2 separate regions of the Homo sapiens genome follow, and region 1 is linked to region 2. The links are contacts of gene promoters, found by promoter capture Hi-C in blood cells and fetal thymus (Javierre and others, 2016). All regions are on one chromosome and are shown on one strand. Each heading gives the region's core, a stretch centred on a gene start or on the middle of the fragment in contact. The rest is flanking DNA. Distances are from core to core; before and after follow the strand shown. Region 1 holds the start of C1orf115 (chromosome 1 open reading frame 115). Region 2 holds the start of BPNT1 (3'(2'), 5'-bisphosphate nucleotidase 1).

Region 1 (4,166 bases), core at 748-3,247, 600 kb before region 2:
AATAATTCCATTAAAATGTGTATATAAACATTGATTTGAGTACCTGTTTTCAATTCTTTGGTTACATCCCTAGGAGTGGAACTGCTAGATCACAGAATAAGTCTACACTGAACTTTTTAAGGAACTCCCAAATTGTTTTCCACAGCAGCTGTCCCATTTTACATTCCCACCAGCAATGTACAATGGTTCCAATTTCTCTACATTCTCGCCAACATTTGTTATTCGGTTTGTTTGGACATTTTTTGGAGTAGCCGTTCTAGTGGGGATGAAGTGTGCCTACTTCATACCACTTCACTGTTATCTGGTGAAATCTTAACTCATCCTTCTGTGCCCAGTTTTCATGTCACCGTGATTTGAAAACTTCCCTGAGTTTACAAGCTCACCGCTGAGGAGTGAACTGCCTGAGCTCTGTGCCCTGAAGCCCCCCCGGGGGCGGGGGGAGCCAGCTATGTCAGTGTCTCCCTGGGAGGCTGTGCCCTTCTCTAGGGCAGGGCTGCACTGTATTCATTTTCGCATCTCTACTGCTCAGCACAATGCCTGACGCATAATGAGTGCCCCCAAAATATCTTCAAGTCCTAGTCCTTGAGCTGAGGTTTCTGCAGTATCAGTTCACCAATGGAGAGGGACATGATGGCTTCTTTGTGCTCAACTGGGACCCAAAGCAGAGATGAATCGTCCTAGCAGGGCTCTAAGCCTGAAAGACCCAACTTTATAGTTTTACCCCTGCCTGTATTCTGCTCCAGAAGCTGCTGACATACCTTTAAAGAGGATGATAAACCTAAGCTCCCAGGCATGGAGACTGAATGGCTTCAGGTGTAAGACGGCATTGGGCAACACAGATAAATAGACAATAAATCAGATGGGGCCCGTGGCCTTTGGCCAGGACACAGTAACTTCTGTGACTTTATTCTGGGTGGCCTTGTCCAGGCCAGCAGAGCTTCCGGCAGCAGCTTCGACTGTTTCCATGCAGAGACACCTGGGAACTGCATCTGCGCTTTGATTTCCGCGAAGGAAACTGTCATTTTCTCCCATATTCATTCTTCCTAACCCCATCTCCCCGAGACAAACGGCAGAATGTTTTGAAGGCCCCAGAGTACACTGATAGTTGGCTAGACGAGAAAAATTCAACGAGCGCCTATTTATGTATTTGTTGCGCTCCCAGGCTCGGGAAATAACCTTGGGAATATTTGGGAGAGTAACCCAAACATTTCTCAACTAGTGGGATATCCTGGAGGGGATGTTACTGGAAAACAAATACACTGGGTTGCAATTTCTTTCTTTCCAACTGGGCCACCTTCTCCAAGTCACCTGCCGCGCTAACGCTTCAGTATTCCCATCTGTAATCAGGAAACTGATTCCTGATCTTACATAAAAACCACCGCGGTAGGAGCCCCTTGAGAATGTTCTTAAGAAGCCAGGAGCGCAATAGCAGGCACAGCAGGGACCACCCAGCGCAACCCCCGATTTAAGTTTCTATCACGACTCGCAACTCGCGGCTTCCCTCCGGCGAGGGAATGGGAGCGGGGGCGGAGGGGTCGCAGGTGCAGCCCGGAGAAACTGGGTGAGTCGATGGTAAGGACCCGGCTCCCGCTCCCCCGCGGGACACCACACCCGCGCCCCCCGGGCAGTGGTGGCGCAGGGCCCCTACCTTGCCGTACTTCTTCAGCTTCCTCCGGTACCTCTTCCTGGGCTGCTCGCTCGGCGCCGGCTCCTCCAGTGGCTCGTAGCGCTCGGGCAGGAGGGCGAAGTGCACCCTCCGCGCGCCCCGGGTCCCCGGGCCCCGCTCGTCCGCCGCGCTCGTCCCGCTCTCGGCCGCCGCCTCCGCCTCGTCCGCGTACTCCAGGTGCTCCAGGATGGCGGCCGCCTCCTCGTCCCCCTCGGTTCGCCCTCGCCCTCGGGGCCCGCGGCGCAGGAGGCTGCTCTCCGCCTTGCTTCGGAGCCTGGCTCCCACCGTCATGATGTCCCGGCCCCTCTGGCGAAGGTCCGAGCGCAAAGACACCAACCTTTGGTCCCCGCCCGCTCCTCCGCCCCAGCCCGGACGGGGCGGGGGATTGGGGGGGCCGCAGCGCCCCCTGGCCGTGGGGCCCGGGATAGCGTTGGCTCCGCTCCGAACTGGCCTACCAGGCGGCGGGCGCGCTCCGCCAGCCCCGCCCTTCATCCCACCTGCCGGCCAAACTGTGCAGACTACGGCGCGCACTGCACAATGAACATGCAAAACACCTTCAACTGCACTTGCTACGAAATTAATGACCCCAAATAATAGGACTCCATCTGCTCATGTTCAAATTAGCAACGATGGAAAATGATACTAGAGATCACGCTCAGTGCTAGGGAGGGCATGGCGAGATAGTCACGGTAACAGGATTCGTGGGAGTGCAAATTGGTGGCAAGGTTTTGGAGAGACGATCAGAAAATCTTTATCGTGAGTCTTAGGAAACGTCCGTATTCTAGGAAATATTCGGAAACGCAAGACAGTGTGTCCACGGTGTTCAACGGTCTGACTCAGTGAAAAAGTGGAGCAAACCAACAGGGAGGCGCAAAGGAAATTCTGGTGCAGACATGCCAGCATATGGCGCAGTCTTTAAAATCATGATTTTCAGGAATATCTCTCTGTGAGATAAGCATTATCAGTGTACTGTGAATCTCAACAAGCTGAGAGTGCCCTATTTTCTTAAGTGGGTAAATGCCTTTGAATTCTGGCTAATGTAGAATTAAGGGCCGAAAGCAGTGGCTCACGCCTGTAATCCCAGCACTTTGAGAGGCCGGGAGGATAGCTTCAGCCCAGGAGTTGGGGAACAGCCTGGGCAACATAGTGAGACCTCCATCTCTAGAAAAAAAAAAAAAAATTAGCCAGGCGTAGGGGCGCACACCTGTGATCCCAGCTATTCAGGAGGATCGCTTGGGCCTGGGAGTTTGAGACTAGCCTGGGCAACACAGGGAGACCTCATCTCTAGAAATAGAAAAACAAATACAAAAGTTTACCTGTAGTCCCAGTGAGGTAGGGAGATCGCTTGATCCTGGAAGGTGGAGATTGCAGTGAGCTATGATTGTGCCACTGCGCTCCAAAGGGGTCGACAGAGTGAGATCCCATCTCAAAAAAATACTTAGGTATAAAATAACATAGATTGTTAGATACACTGATATTTTAACATTAAAGTTTGTGATTAAATTTAAGAATAACGTGTATATGTTGGTATAAGCACATACAATGTTTACGACAATTTAGTTCACTAGGATGCAAAAGAAATTAGTTTTGTGATTCCAACTTAAAATGTGAGCCAGCATGGTGACTTTCACCTGTAATCCCAGCAACTCCACAGGCTGTGGTGGGAGGATCCCTTGAGGCTAGGAGTTCTGAGCAACGTAGGCCCCATTTCTAAAAAAGTGAAAATGTGTGGCTCGGTGCGGTGACTCACACCTGTAATCCCAACACTTTGGGAGACCAAGGCGGTGGATCACCTGAGGTCAGGAGTTCGAGACCAGCCTGGCCAATATAGTGAAACCCTGTCTCTACTAAAAATACAAAAATTAGCCAGGCATGGTGGCGTGCTCCTGTAGTCTCAGCTATTCGGCAGGCTGAGGAGGAGAATCGCTTAAACCCAAGAGGCAGAGGTTGCAGTGAGCGGAGATCGTGCCACGGCACTCCAGCCTGGGCAACAGAGTGAGACTCTGTCTCAAAAAAAAAAAAAAAAGTAATCAGCTAATTGATTTACGCTTTTATTTAACTTATGTAATAAGGTAATAAGTAATGACTTATATTTAATCTTAAAAACATAGAGTCTTTATATGTAAAATAGTATATAAAATTTATGTACAATTCAATTTCAGGTGAAATGGGTATGAAAATGAATTTAACTTACTATATTTATAAGAATTACTTAGAGTTTTGTTATAGAATTGAAGTACTTGAAAAGAAAGTCAAATATTAAATTTGTAAAAGTTGCTTGAAATGTTTAGGAGAATTAACTAAACAGTAAAAGTGCCTCCTTACAGTAATTGTAAAATTTTATCGGGTGAGTAAATAGTTTAAAACAGTATGTAATTTGAATTTAAAAGGTTAAGAGAAAGTAGATTTGTAGATTTGTAATTTTGCTAAAGCAACTATTACTTTATAAACAAACAGAGACCCTTGTAGTCCCTTTTTTTTTTGTACAAAACCGACCTCA
Region 2 (4,141 bases), core at 654-3,153:
CTTGAACTCAGGAGGCACAGGTTGCAGTGAGAAATCAGGCCACTGCACACCAGCCTGGGCGACAGAGCGAGACTCCATCTCCAAAAAATAAAATAAAATGCACTTCATCTTTGACCCACGGTTTCACATCTGGGATCTATCACAGCTATAGTCTTCCAGGAGCACAAAGATATATTTACATAGAAACTCTCCTAACCAACCTCTACATAACTTGCTGAATTCAACTATGCCGTTTTCTCGTAAAACCTATGAGAGGATACAATGAACACTTGGGAGATGGCTACTCTTTAGGATGACTGCAGATTTCTATTCTCACTTGTTGAGCTTACCTTGCATTATGTTTGTCTTTATTTAAGCCATTTGTACTTGTCATGTAATTATACAATTTAATTATAAAAACCAAAGTATGGCCAGGTGCAGTGGCTCATGCCTGTAATCTCAGCACTTTGGGAGGCCGAGGCGGGCGGATCATGAGGTCAGGAGTTCGAGACCAGCCTGGCCAACATGGTGAAACCCCGTCTTTACTAAAAAAAAAAAAAATGCAAAAACTAGCTGGGCTGGGTGGTGTGCGCCTGTAGTCCCAGTTACTCAGGAGGCTGAAGCAGGAGAATAGCTTGAACCCTGGGAGGCAGAGGTTGCAGTGAGCCGAGATCAAGCCATTGCACTCCAGCCTGGGCGACAGAGTAAGACGCCGTCTCAAAAAATATATATATGTATATATGTGTGTGTGTGTGTGTGTGTATATATATATATATATATATATATATATATATATATATGGTTAAAGTAATATAATTTAAGTTATGTATATTTTTCCACTTCCCAAAAAGGGTCTACTTAACTCACAGAGTTATTGTGAAAATCAAATGAAGACGTAAAAGCCTTTTTAAGCTGGGCGCAGTGGCTCACACCTGTAATCCCAGCACTTTGGGAGGCCGAGGTGAGCAGATCACCTGGGGTCAGGAGTTCAAGACCAGCCTGGCCAATATGATGAAACCCCGTCTCTACTTAAAAAACAAACAAAATTAGCCCGGCGTGGTGGCGCGCCTGTAGTCCTAGCTACTTGGGAGGCTAAGGAGGAAGGATCGCTTGAACCCAGGAGGAGGAGGTTGTAGTGAACCTAGACTGCGCCACTGCACTCCAGCCTGGGCGACAGGATGAGACACTGCCCCCTTCCCCAACCACGCCCCCCAGTAAAAGATCCCATCTGTACACAAAAAATATTTTAATTAGCTGGGTGTGGTGGCGCGCACCTCCACCAGTAGTCCCAGCTACACGGAAGGCTGAGGCGGGAGGATGGCTTGAGCCTAGAAGTGGGAAGGCAGCAGTGAGCCGTAATCGACTCTGGGCGACAGAGCAAGCTATCTATCGCTTAAAAAAAAAAAAAAAAAAAAAAAAAAAAAGGTAAGCAAGCATCTTTGACACAATTCTGCATAAAGTTGCTGTGTTATTGCGTGGGGAGTGGGAGGTGGAGGTGTGTGTGGTGGACCTGCTGAAGCCTGTCCACGGACCGCTAGGGGTTCGAAGTTAAATAGCCGCAGAGTGGTATCACTAATACAAAGAACATTTTAAAACAGTGAACTCTACGAAGTGGGCTGGAAGACAGCTGAAACCAAAACCAATCTTTTTTTTGTTTCAACACACTGTTGCTGGCTTAATGTGTTCTTTCCTTCTTCTTTTTCTTTTTTTAGCCAATCTTTGAAAGTTGACACATCTTTCGCTTTTATTTAATGCAACAGGTGACTTGCACCTACGGAGAGCTTGGAGAAAACACGGACAAGTGGAATTTTCCCGCGGATCAGGAGTCTAAAGAGGCAGTGTGAAATCGCTGTTGTGCGCTTGCGCGCAGTTTCCCGCATGCTCAGTAGCTGAGGTAGGGATGCCATCCTTCTCAAAAGACTTATTGACAGTGCCAAAGCTCGGTACTGGACACAACGAGGGACCTGGGTCTACGATAACGCGCTTTTGCTCCTCCTGAAGTGTCTTTGGTCCAACGTTGTTCCAGGTTTGTCACCGTTTCTCTCCGGCCGGTCAGGGCAAGAGCCAGGTAGATAGGATTTATGTTAAAAAAATAAAACGAAAAAGGTTTATGTGAATCAGATTGCTTCTCCAGATATTCTAACTTCCGACTTGGACTCTTGAGTGTCGATATTTTAATTGTTTATCTGTGCTTTTATTTTCGTGATCCGGAAGGTTTTTATAGCCATATACTGTAGAAACAAGACAAACCTAGACATTGAGTTTGTTGATGCACCCAAATTTAGAAACTGCTTGGTACCTAAAATTAAATTTCTTTAAACAGCAAATATTCTTCCAACTGCCATTTCTACATATTTATAGGTTTGCGTGATTTATTTGGATTTCTCTGTAAATATAATTGTTGGTTCAAAAGATACGTACTTTATACTTTTATTAAGGTTCTCAAAACTCTCCTAAGAGGGTTCACCGCTTTGCCAACAATGCTCAGGAACATGTTCCCTCACACCCTTGCAAACTGGACAAAGGACAAACTCTTCTTCTTTCTTCTTTTTTCTTCTTCTTCTTCCTCCTCCTTCCTCCTCCTTCTTTTTTTTTTTTTTTTTTTTTTTTCGAGACGGAGTCTCGCTCTGTCGCCCAGGCTTGAGTGCAGTGGTGCAATCTCGGCTCACTGCAAGCTCCACCTCCCAGGTTCACGCCATTCTCCTGCCTCAGCCTCCCGAGTAGCTGGGACTACAGGCGCCCACCACCAAGCCTGGCTAATTTTTTTTGTATTTTTAGTAGAGACGGGGTTTCACCGTGTTAGTCAGGATGGTTTCGATCTCCTGACCTCGTGATCTGCCCGTCTCGGCCTCCCAAAGTGCTGGGATTACAGGCGTGAGCCACCGCGCCCAGCCTTTCTTTCTTTCTTTTTTTTTTTTTTTTAAGACAGGTTCTAGCTCTGTCCCCCAGGCTGGAGTACAGTGGTGCCATTATGTCTCACTGCAACCTTGACCTCCCAGGGTCTGGTGATTCTCCCACCTCAGCCTCCCGAGCAGCTGGGACTACAGGCATGTGCCACCACACCATCTAATTTTTGCATTTTTTTGTAGAGACGAGGTTTTGCCATGTTGCCCAGGCTGGTCTCGAACTCCTGAGCTCAAGCAATACACCAGCCTTGGCCTCCCAAAAAGTTCTAGGATTACGGGTGTGAGCCACTGCATTCAGCGACAATTTTTTTTTTTTTTTTTTTTTTTGAGTCGGAGTCTCTGTCGCCCAGGCTGGACTGCAGTGGCGCGATCTCGGCTCACCACAACCTCTGCCTCCTATGTTCAAGCAATTTTCCTGCCTCAGCCTCCTGAGTAATTTTTGTATTACTATGCCTGGTTAATTTTTGTATTTTTAGTAGAGATGGGGTTTCACCATGTTGGCCAGGCTAGTCTTGAACTCCTAACTTCAGGTGATTCACCTGCCTTGGCCTCCCAAAGTGCTGGGATTACAGGTGTGAGCCACCGTGCCCTGCCAAATTTTCTTTTCTATGCCAATCTTAAAAATAAACAATCATGGCCCGGCGCGGTGGCTCACGCCTGTAATCCTAGCACTTTGGGAGGCTTAGGCAGGCCATGAGGTCGGAAGTTCGAGACCAGCCTGACCAACATGGAGAAACCCTGTCTCTACTAAAAATACAAAATTAGCCAGGTGTGGAGATGCTTGCCTGTAATCCCAGCTACTCGGGAGGCTGAGGCAGGAGAATCGCTTAAACCCGGGAGGCAGAGGTTGCGGTGAGCCAAGATCTCGCCATTGCACTCCAGCCTGGGCAACAAGAGCAAAAACTCTGTCTCAAAAAATAAATAAATTAATTAATTAATTAAAAATAAAATAATCATTTCTCATTGTTTTAGTTTGCATTTCTTTCATAATTAGTGAAGCTGAGTATTTATGTATTTAATGGCCAGTGCTTTTCTCTTTGTAGGTGTTGCCCGTTCTTGTTTATTTGCTCATTTTTCTATTGGATTATTCAGCTTTTATATACTGATCTTTTACAAATTAAGTCATTTGTCTGGTATGTGATACAATATTTTTTTCTCATTTTGTCAAGTACCTGTTTATTTAGTTTATGGTATTTTGGCCATGTAGAAGTTTTAATTTTATTTTTATTTATTGATTGATTGATTTTGAGACGGAA

What was found. The method cuts DNA at HindIII sites, captures the fragments that hold promoters and counts their contacts. A CHiCAGO score of 5 or more calls a contact.
Region 1: a contact is called between the fragment with the promoter of C1orf115 here and the fragment with the promoter of BPNT1 in region 2, in 2 of 17 cell types (total CD4 T cells and erythroblasts). The highest score is 8.8, in total CD4 T cells.

What each region holds. Positions count from the first base shown.
Region 1 is chr1:220,688,194-220,692,359 of GRCh38, reverse strand. It overlaps C1orf115 (chromosome 1 open reading frame 115), which reads right to left and starts at 1,997. Exons shown (of 2, transcript NM_024709.5): 1 at 1,649-1,997. The coding sequence starts at 1,957. RefSeq lists a silencer at 1,927-2,166. The HindIII fragment of the contact is 6,585 bases long and covers 1-4,166 here.
Region 2 is chr1:220,087,550-220,091,690 of GRCh38, reverse strand. It overlaps BPNT1 (3'(2'), 5'-bisphosphate nucleotidase 1), which reads left to right and starts at 1,903. Exons shown (of 9, transcript NM_006085.6): 1 at 1,903-2,005. RefSeq lists an enhancer at 1,603-1,792. The HindIII fragment of the contact is 18,631 bases long and covers 1-4,141 here.